Linked DNA regions of Homo sapiens: region 2 is linked to region 1. The links are contacts of gene promoters, found by promoter capture Hi-C in human tissues and cell types (Jung and others, 2019). All regions are on one chromosome and are shown on one strand. The core of a region is centred on a gene start or on the middle of the fragment in contact, and the rest is flanking DNA. Distances in the headings are between cores, read along the strand shown. Region 1 holds the start of DAZAP2 (DAZ associated protein 2). Region 2 holds the start of GPD1 (glycerol-3-phosphate dehydrogenase 1).

Evidence for each region. Contacts are between HindIII fragments. The study calls those that stand out against the background at their distance.
Region 2: a contact is called between the fragment with the promoter of GPD1 here and the fragment with the promoter of DAZAP2 in region 1, in 1 of the 25 tissues and cell types used here (liver).

What each region holds. Positions count from the first base shown.
Region 1 is chr12:51,236,279-51,241,127 of GRCh38, forward strand. DAZAP2 (DAZ associated protein 2) reads left to right here and starts at 2,548. Exons shown (of 4, transcript NM_014764.4): 1 at 2,548-2,642; 2 at 4,065-4,183; 3 at 4,593-4,838. The coding sequence starts at 2,630. RefSeq lists enhancers at 1,598-2,235, 2,327-2,621, 2,545-2,794, 3,511-4,147 and a silencer at 2,345-2,454. The HindIII fragment of the contact is 10,606 bases long and covers 1-4,590 here.
Region 2 is chr12:50,102,173-50,106,997 of GRCh38, forward strand. GPD1 (glycerol-3-phosphate dehydrogenase 1) reads left to right here and starts at 1,836. Exons shown (of 8, transcript NM_005276.4): 1 at 1,836-1,919; 2 at 2,402-2,579; 3 at 3,376-3,516; 4 at 4,116-4,254; 5 at 4,633-4,745. The coding sequence starts at 1,879. RefSeq lists an enhancer at 846-895. The HindIII fragment of the contact is 8,009 bases long and covers 1-4,825 here.

The DNA of each region.
Region 1 (4,849 bases), core at 1,298-3,797:
GGCATGAGCCACCGCACCCGGATCTTCAGGGTCATCTTTTATCAGTCCCCTTACCAGTATGCTCTGGCTACACTGAACTCTTTCATGCCCTCCCCCTCTATAAGCCTTCTCACCTCTAGGCCTTTGCATAAGCAGTTCCCTCTTCCAGGAACCCTCTTCACTTGCTTAACCTGCTCTCACCCTTCAGATTTCATCTCAGACATCACTTGCATCAGGAAACCTTCCCTGACTACATCAGAATAGAGTAGGTGCCTCACCTATGTGTTCTCCTCACACTCCATGCTGTCTTTATGTCAGCACTAATCATATTATGTGTTCACTTTTCTGTCTCTCCCATTAGGTAGACCATAAATTCCATGAGAGTATGGACTATGCCTGTCTCTTCATTATTATTTCCCTAGTGCCTGTCACAGGGCCTGGCACATAATAGGTGCTCAAAAAATATTTGTTAAATTAATGTAAGAAAGAATGTTTGATAAATGACCAAATAAACATCTTCATCTCATTGGGGAATCTACGAGAATGAAGAAAATGCCAAAGTTTGATCCTGTTCAAGAAAGTAGCTAATTACTACTACTTTTTTTTGTAGAGATGAAGTCTCACTATGCTGCCTAGGCTGGTTCTGAACTCCTGGCTCAAGCGATCCTCCTGCCTAGGCTGCCCAAAGTGTTGGGATTACAGGTGTGAGCTGTTGCACCCAGCCACCATTTACTTCTTAATTCCACCTGCCAGAGAAAGCACTGGCCTGCAACTCTTTCATTTTTGTTAGTAATCTCATTTGGCTCTGCCCTGGTTTTCCCAATGCCCAGGTCCCACTGTGACAAGCAAAATACCCAACAACCTGTAAAGTAGGCCTGACCAATCTGAGGGCAGTTTACATGAGCAGGAGGTAGGCCCAGGAGAGTTCCTGGGTCCTAAGAGTTAACCCTTTAATCATTGGACAATGGAGGTGGCAAGATCGCTTGAGGCTGGAAATTCAAGACCAGCCTGGCCAACACAGGGAGACCCCATCTCTGTATTAAAAAATGAATAGCACGTGCCTGTAATCCCAGCTAGTCGGGAGGCTGAGGCAGGAGAATCGCTTAGAACCCTGGAGGCGGAGGTTGCAGTGAGCTGAGATTGCGCCACTGCACTCCAGCCTGGCGACAGACCAAGCCTCTGTCTCAAAAATAAATAAATAAATAAATAAATAAATAAATAAATAAATAAATAAATAAAAATAAGGCTCGGCGCAGTGGCTTATGCCTGTAATCCCAGAACCTTGGGAGGCCGAGGCAGGTGGATCACCTGAGGTCAGGAGTTCGAGACCAGCCTGGCCAACATGGTGAAACCCCGTCTCTACTAAAAAATACAAAATTTGCCGGTCGTGGTGGCGGGCACCTGTAATCCCAGCTATTCGGGAGGCTGAGGCAGGAGAATTGCTTGAACCCAGGAGGCGGAGGTTGCAGTGAACCGAGATCATGCCACTGCACTCCAGCCTGGGCGACAGAGCAAGACTCCATCTCAAAAAAAAAAAAAAAAAAAAAAAGAAAAGAAAAAATTAAAACTTTTTTTAGAAAGAAAGAAAACCAGCCTGGCCAACATAGTGAAACCCCGTCTCTACTAAAAATACAAAAATTAGCCAGGAATGGTGGCGCACGCCTGTAGGCCCAGCTACTCAGGAAGCTGAGGCAGGAGAATTGCCTGAACCCGGGAGGTGGAGGCTGTGGTGAGATCGCCCCACTGCACTCTAGCCTGGGCAAGCGAGCAAGACTCCGTCTCAAAAAAAAAAGAAAAAGAAAAGAAAACACTTAATCGCTGCCCTAAAGGATGCCATCTTTGCCCTTAAGGATAATTAGGTTAGAAAGAGAAGCCATACATAGAGAAAAATAGAGGTACCATACAGGTCACCTGCAACAGGTGCTAAAAAAAGGAAAGGGCCACAAACACTCCATGGGTAGTGCAGTTATGTCAGTTTCAGTGCCAGGTGTTGCGTACAGCACGGAAAACATAACCCCTTCCTGTACGTGAGAAAGGCAACGACTGTCCTGGGGAAGACAGGGCAGCGAAGATTCCAGTGCAGGTCTCATTCAGGAAAGGATACATGTGAGCTGGAGTGGCAAAATAAATTTTAACAGAGCTGAAGCTTAAGTTGGGCTTGGTGGGGAGGGACGCATGATAAACTAAGGTGTGGGGAGCCGATTTCAGGCAGTGCGACAAATTTGCAGAAATCTAAGCCCCTCGTGGAAGGTTGCCAAGGTGAGGTGACCTTGAGTGAATGCGTGTAGGTGGAAAAAGGTTCCGGGGAATGCTTGCATCGTTCTGCATCCGAGCGTCCAACAGAGAAAAGATCCTGTTTCCAGACAATACCTGCATTTGGTTTTTCTCCAGCTGAGGGACACCGGTAGGGGGGGGGAGGACAGAAACGAGCAGGGGGTGGGGCCAAGGCGAGTGGGCGGGACCGCGCGGACCCTCCCGCGGCCGACTGGAGGCCCGGAGCAGGGGCGGAGTTTCCGGCGGCAGCGCCACTCGGGCGTCGGGTGACGCTAGGCGGACGGACCATCATGTGACACGGAAGTAGCTCCGAACAGGAAGAGGACGAAAAAAATAACCGTCCGCGACGCCGAGACAAACCGGACCCGCAACCACCATGAACAGCAAAGGCAAGGACCGAGGGTGGCAGAGGCCGTCGGGGGGAGTACTGCTGGCCCAGAGCGAGCGGATTCGGAGCCCAGGGTCACCAAACGCCAGGTTTGGGGTGGGCTGCGCCATGCTCCTTGGCCGGCTGCAGTCCAGGGCGCTGCGCCTGACGCCTTCGTCATACCCAAATTACGGCAGCTTGCTGCCTCCAGGCCCTTTCCTCCGTAAACTCTGTGGCGCAGTTTGGAGCTGCGGGCTCGGGTGGTGGGGGGGCTTGACATGATGGGCATCCGCAGGAGCAAATAGAGCGCTAGCGCAGGCATTCGCGTAGGCCAATGGAGAGCCGGCGGAGGCGGGGCGCCGCGCTCCGGAACCCCCAGCGGGGCCGAACTTAACTACTGAATTGCTGGAGTTGGTTCGTGGGCCGGGGCCTGTGAGGTCTCTTTTCCTTCCCTTCGCACCCCCTCGCCCTTCGCTGACGGGATCAGAACTTCTCCCCTTTTCTGTGGTTGTACCAGTGTGTCTGTCGGAACATGATTCCCATAACGCAGGAATAGGTTGAGGGGGTAAAAAAGGAATAGAAAAAAAAAAAAAAAAAAGGCCGAGCGAGGTTGCTCACGCCTGTAATCCCAGCAGTTTGGGAGGTCGAGGCGGGCGGATCACCTGAGGTCAAGAGTTCGAGACCAGCCTGGCCAACGTGGTGAAACCCCGTCTCTATTAAAAAATACAAAAATCAGCTGGGCGTGGTGGCGGGCGCCTGTAATCCCAGCTACTCGGGAGGCTGGGGTAGGAGAATTGCTTGAACCCAGGAGACGGAGGTTGCAGTGAGCCGAGATCGCGCCACTGCACTCCAGCCTGGGCAAAAGAGCGAGACTCCGTCTCAGAACAAACAAAAAACCAAACCTGATCCCCCGCTTTTCCAGTGAGGATATTCCTCCTCACCCCTCAGCCCTGCACCCTTTTCCCAGTCTCACGGTTCACTTCCATCATTCACACCCTTTGTTTGGAAGTCGACCTTGAATAGTAATCTGTAAGGAAAATCAGAACTGCTGTTACCCACGAAGTCTGGGCTGGTTGTAGACAGGCTGTGGAGACTACCTAGAGCAGAGGCACCCTTGATAAGCCAGAACAGCAGCAGGCCAGAACCCCAGACCTGTCCTGCATTCCGGAGGGAACTTGGGCCCAGGTAGACTTAACCCCTTACTTCGGTATGTTAGTAGGAGCAGTGAGCAGTGCCTTTCTTGTCTCGTTAGAATCCAGCACCTTCCATTTTAAGGGTGCAAAGACAATGCATATTTTCTTAGTTCCAGGAATCAGGCCCTCTGGGGCAGACTATTTGCAAATCCCCTTCTGCTTGCTCCCACTAAGTTAGCTACCCGATATGACCTGCCTCATTTTGGTAGCTCTGTGTAGTAGGCAACCTTCATTTTTTTCTTGTCTTTCAGGTCAATATCCAACACAGCCAACCTACCCTGTGCAGCCTCCTGGGAATCCAGTATACCCTCAGACCTTGCATCTTCCTCAGGCTCCACCCTATACCGATGCTCCACCTGCCTACTCAGAGGTGCTTCCAGTTTGCCAGATTTGAACTAGCTGGGAATACTCTTAGGGTGGTCCTTTAGTCCTTAGCTAAATCTGACTTCACATATTTACTCTTCACAAATGCTAACATGAATAATCTAAAACACTATATAATTTGGCAATTTTTGTCGGAGTTGAAAGTGCATTATTTGATGATTTTGTGTTATTTGGCACAGGCTAAGGTGCAGAAGATGAATTTGCGTTCTGTGAGCCCAACATTAGCTATAGCAGAAAGTGATCCAGGAGAATATTGAAGGCCAGTGGAAAGGCAACTTGTATAATCTTACAAAAAGTATAACCTGCATAAGGAGAATTAAGAATTAGCTCATTAAAGAGATCTCAAATAGGAATGTCATAAAGTAACATTTTGCCTTCTCTTCTGCCTCTTCTAGCTCTATCGTCCGAGCTTTGTGCACCCAGGGGCTGCCACAGTCCCCACCATGTCAGCCGCATTTCCTGGAGCCTCTCTGTATCTTCCCATGGCCCAGTCTGTGGCTGTTGGGCCTTTAGGTTCCACAATCCCCATGGCTTATTATCCAGTCGGTCCCATCTATCCACCTGGCTCCACAGTGCTGGTGGAAGGAGGGTATGATGCAGGTGCCAGATTTGGAGCTGGGGCTACTGCTGGCAACATTCCTGTGAGTATGAC
Region 2 (4,825 bases), core at 586-3,085, 1.1 Mb before region 1:
TTGGGAAAAGAGCTCTAGTGATACAGATAACTTCCTGTGATGAGCCGATTCTGAATCTCTGCACCCTCTTTATTCCCATGTAAATGAGCACATTCTTAGTCTCCACACTATCTAAAATGATTGTAGGGGCAAAATGAGAGAGGGAAGCATTTAGGCAAAAACAAGGGGGTTATTTTATGCATAAACATCCATTCTTTGGGGCTCCCATCATTTGTGCCAGGGACAGAAGCATCCTTTCTCTTCCATCACCCGTAATCAGTGCTCCCAGCTGGCAGCCTGGCACTGGAGCCTTCATCTCAGTGCCAGTGCAATAAAGGAGTGGTCTGTGGGAGGCTGTTTCTGTATTAGGTATAACATTGTGCTAAGAAAAACAGCCAACTACTGATTTCATGTCCGTTTCCCTATGGGAAATTACTGGCCATGGAAGGAGAATATGGTTGGTTTTTCCTGGGCAGTCCCCGGAACTTAGAAAGCCATTTCTCCCCAGTCTTGACCTCCTGCCTGCTTACTCCTACCCATGGGTTGCACACAGACTCCCCTGTAGCCCAGTGCTTGTTACCAGTTGCTGGCCAGCAACAGCCCAGGGGGATGGCAACACCCACCTAGCCGTCTGCCAAGCCAGGAGGTCAGCACATGAGCACACAGTGGTGTCTGCCCTCTAGGCCAAGGTGCACAGTGTTAGGAGCCTCTTGCTCCACTCTCCAGATCAGCCTGGAAACCAGAGCTTCCCTCGTCTTAGACAAACAGATGGCCGTGGGCGATGCAGAGCCCTGAACTGCTGAGGGTGCTCCTTCCATTCTCGCCCTTCCCCAAAAAACATACACCAAACTTACCCCCAATCACAGCATCTGAGACCACAAAGCCCCACGGACACAGCTGCCCCGGGTACTGCCTGCCTTCCCCTTTTCTGGCCTCTGCAAACTAGCCATTCACCTGATGAAGCCCCTGGGGCAGTACCTTGGAAACCCCTGAGAGGAGGAGTTGAAGGAGGCTCAAAGCCTTTCAAGGACAGTGTGCACTCTGCCTGCCTCCTATTCTCTCCTGTCCTCTTAAGCCCAGAGTCTACAACAAAATTGTGTACCGCAATTCTCAGAGCTCTCTAACTTTAACCTTTCCCACCTTCCCTAGAACACATTTTTGGGTGGGGATCATCTGAGAGGCCCATGGATGAGTCCCCAAGATGACCTCTGTGGGTGACCAAGACAATCTTGTCTTTTGAGGCACCTGGAGTCTCTCATCCTTTTTTGAGCTGGGCTGTCCTCAAAGCAGGCCCTTACCTCTTATGTGGCCTCATCTTTAGAGGTGGGAAGTGGGCCCACATCCCCCACCCCAGCCCTGCAGTGGAGCTAGCGTGGGCCTGCTGGAGGACAGAACTGTGGAACAGGGTCCTGTGAGGATATGTGGCAGGGTTGGCGGGGGGATAGGGGGTCATGGAGGAGCCTACCTCTGAAAAGCATTCCCCTAGCTGCTACTGAAGCTAAATACAATTTATTTCATGCTGGGGGACAGAAAGGAGCAAGGGAGAGCAGTCACCTGCTCCTTATCTGGGCTATTTTCTTAGCAGACCTCAAAATGAGACCATGGTGGGAAGCTGGGCTGGGGCCAAGGGAAGAAGCTTGCCAGCACTGTCAGCCGATGAGCCCAGGAGAAAAAGCTGGGCCTAGTCTCTGCCCCATTCCTGTTCCACACCTGTCTGTACCCCTGTCTCTCCTTTCCCTGGCTCTGCCAGACTCTCTATCTCCCTGGGCGCCAGCCTCCCCACCCACCCCTGGAGGGCGGGGCTTGGCTGCACCCACGTGTGGTGGAGTTAAATGCTCCTAGCCGGCAGAGGAGCTAGGGAGTGTGGCACTGAGCCGGCTCAGGCAGAGACGCGGCACCATGGCTAGCAAGAAAGTCTGCATTGTAGGCTCCGGGAACTGGTAAGCAGCTCTGTCAAGTGATATGGGGGAAGGGTAGGCCCCCCAAGACAGAGGTGGGTAGGAGGCAGAATGGGTGGGAAAGGCCCTCAGGTTCCTGTTCAGCCCCTGCTGCTATCTTCTATCATAGCAGCACAGGACAGACGGTGCCCGGCCCTCTCCTGACCCCCGCCCTCCTGGGCAGCTGCACCTGTTCACCATGGGAAGGCGTCTCCAGAGCTCTCTATGTGAAGAGCCGCTTGAGTTTGGGGGTGGGAAGATGAGAAGTGGGGCTCCCTTCTCTAGTAGCAAAGGGTGAGGAGACTGAGTCTCCTTTCTACTGCCAGGTCACTGGGGACTATTTGTCATGGGAGTGGAGGTGATAAGGAAGGTAGGTAGGAGTGAACAGCCTGGGGGGCTGCTGTGAGATCCTGAGGTGGGGCGCTGCCCCAACTCCTGCCACTGTTCCCTCCTCCTGTACTTTCCTGTGCTCCCCCTCCCACCAGGGGCTCAGCCATCGCCAAGATCGTGGGTGGCAATGCAGCCCAGCTGGCACAGTTTGACCCACGGGTGACCATGTGGGTATTTGAGGAAGACATTGGAGGCAAAAAGCTGACTGAGATCATCAACACGCAGCATGAGAATGTCAAATACCTGCCAGGGCACAAGTTGCCCCCAAATGTGGTGAGCCCCAACACCCTGCGAAGAACAGGGAGAGGAAGGGAGGGCCAGGAGTTGGAGCCGACCTTACTCAACAGGTGCCTCCTGCTGAGAGGGCCGCTTCAGGTGCAGCAGGACTTGGGAAGGTCTCAGGAGGGCTGCTCTGGGCCCTTTCCTGAGGACTGAGGAGAACCTATGCTTTCCCCTCACAGGCTCCCAGGCGGGTGGGTGGGGAAGGGATGGGAGAACAAGTTGGTCTCCATGGCAGCCAAAGACTGGGCTCCCAGACTTGGGGTCCAGTAGTGCCTGCCTCCGGCACTAATCCTGTTACTCATTCACTGAGTGAGTAGCCGACTTGGAGGCTGCTCCTTGGACTTACGGTCTTTGGTCAAATCCACGTGGCTCTCCCCACCTGGAAAGGGGAAGCAGGGAAGAGAGCAGAAAGGCTGGGGCTCCCCCTTCCCAGCTGGGGTTCCTGAGGAGCTGGGTGATGAAATCTTATTTGAGCTCTTTCTTTTGCCAAGCCCAGGCTGCTTTTGGCCTCCCGCACTGTCCCACAGCCAAGGGATAGGAGAGTGCTGGGATGAGGTTTCCAGGAGTCCTCAAGAGCCCAGGACAGCTGGAGGGAGACAGAGTGGTAGCTGGGGGGAGGGAGTAGAGTGTCTTATTCCTCCAAGTTCAGTCCTTCTAGATTCAGTCCCAAACAAGCCTTCCTGCTCCCCTACCAGCCTCACTCTTTGGCTCCCAGATCTCCTGAATAGGGTTCCACAGGGGCTAGGGGAGGTCTGCCAGGCCCGCGAGCACTTGGTCACCCCCACAGGTGGCTGTCCCAGATGTGGTCCAGGCTGCAGAGGATGCTGACATCCTGATCTTTGTGGTGCCCCATCAGTTCATCGGCAAGATCTGTGACCAGCTCAAGGGCCATCTGAAGGCAAACGCCACTGGCATATCTCTTATTAAGGTGCCAGGGACACCTTCATGTGGATGGGGGAGGGTGCGGCTCACTGTTGTGGGGTTCAGGGTGGGTGAAGCAAGGAGAACAGAAAATGGCAGACGCAGGCCAAGAGTTTGCTGGAGAAAAGAGAGGCAGTTGGCTCTGGAGAGGCTTAGGAAAGCAGTGAGGTGCTGGGGGTCACTGGAAGGGAGGCTGAAGGGAGGAGACGAGATTGGTTTGGAGGTCCTCTCGGGGAGTTTCGGAGGTATAAAGGAATGCCTGGGAGATATGAGAAGCGGGCTGGTTTGAGAAGTGTGAAGAGTAGCTGGTTTGGAGCAGTGACTGGTCACTGAATGGCAGTTTGTTGGGGCAGTCAGGCGGGGTTGCCTAGGGATGTGGAGGGGACCCGTTGCCTTGGAGAAGTAGACTGGTTGAGGGTATGTGGCAGGACAGTTGGTCACATGCTGTCTGGCCTCCTCACAGCAAACTTGAGCTGGGTTGGAATGGGGCAGGACCTGTCGGGAGGGACACAGATGAGCAATGGATTTGGAAGGGACAGAATTTCTGGGCGGAAGCCCGCAGGTGGGCCCAAAGGGCACCTGGCCTGAGCTCCATCCTGTGCTCAGGGGGTAGACGAGGGCCCCAATGGGCTGAAGCTCATCTCGGAAGTGATTGGGGAGCGCCTCGGCATCCCCATGAGTGTGCTGATGGGGGCCAACATTGCCAGCGAGGTGGCTGATGAGAAGTTCTGTGAGACAACCATTGGTGAGAGCCCCCTGGCACCTGCATACACAGTGCATCTAGTTGCATCCCCTCCCCAAACTGCCCCAACCCCACTTAGCCATCTCTTTCCCATAAGGCAGAGAAAGGAAAATACAAGCATCAGAGGTGAAGGAGGCTGGGACACCCCCAGGGAAGGGGCTTCAGGGCCTGCTTAGGGAAACACAGTGATGAGCCCTCCCTCAGAGTTGGTGCAGTGGCACACCTGTGGTCCCAGCTACTTAAGAGGCTGAGGTGGGAGGATCGCTTAAGCCCAGGAGTTTGAGTCCAGCCTGGGCAACAGAGAGAGACTCCCATCTCTATAAAATAAATATTTTTTAAAAAGAGTCCTTCCCTCAAAGCCTTGCCCCCTCCTCACTTTAGGCTGCAAGGACCCGGCCCAGGGACAACTCCTGAAAGAGCTGATGCAGACACCAAACTTCCGTATCACAGTGGTGCAAGAGGTGGACACAGTAGAGATCTGTGGAGCCTTAAAGGTGAGAGGGGCACAGAGGCAGCTATGGGGTGAGGAGAAGGCCCCAAAGGAGGTCTGGCTGAGCTCTGCAAGGCTGCAGGT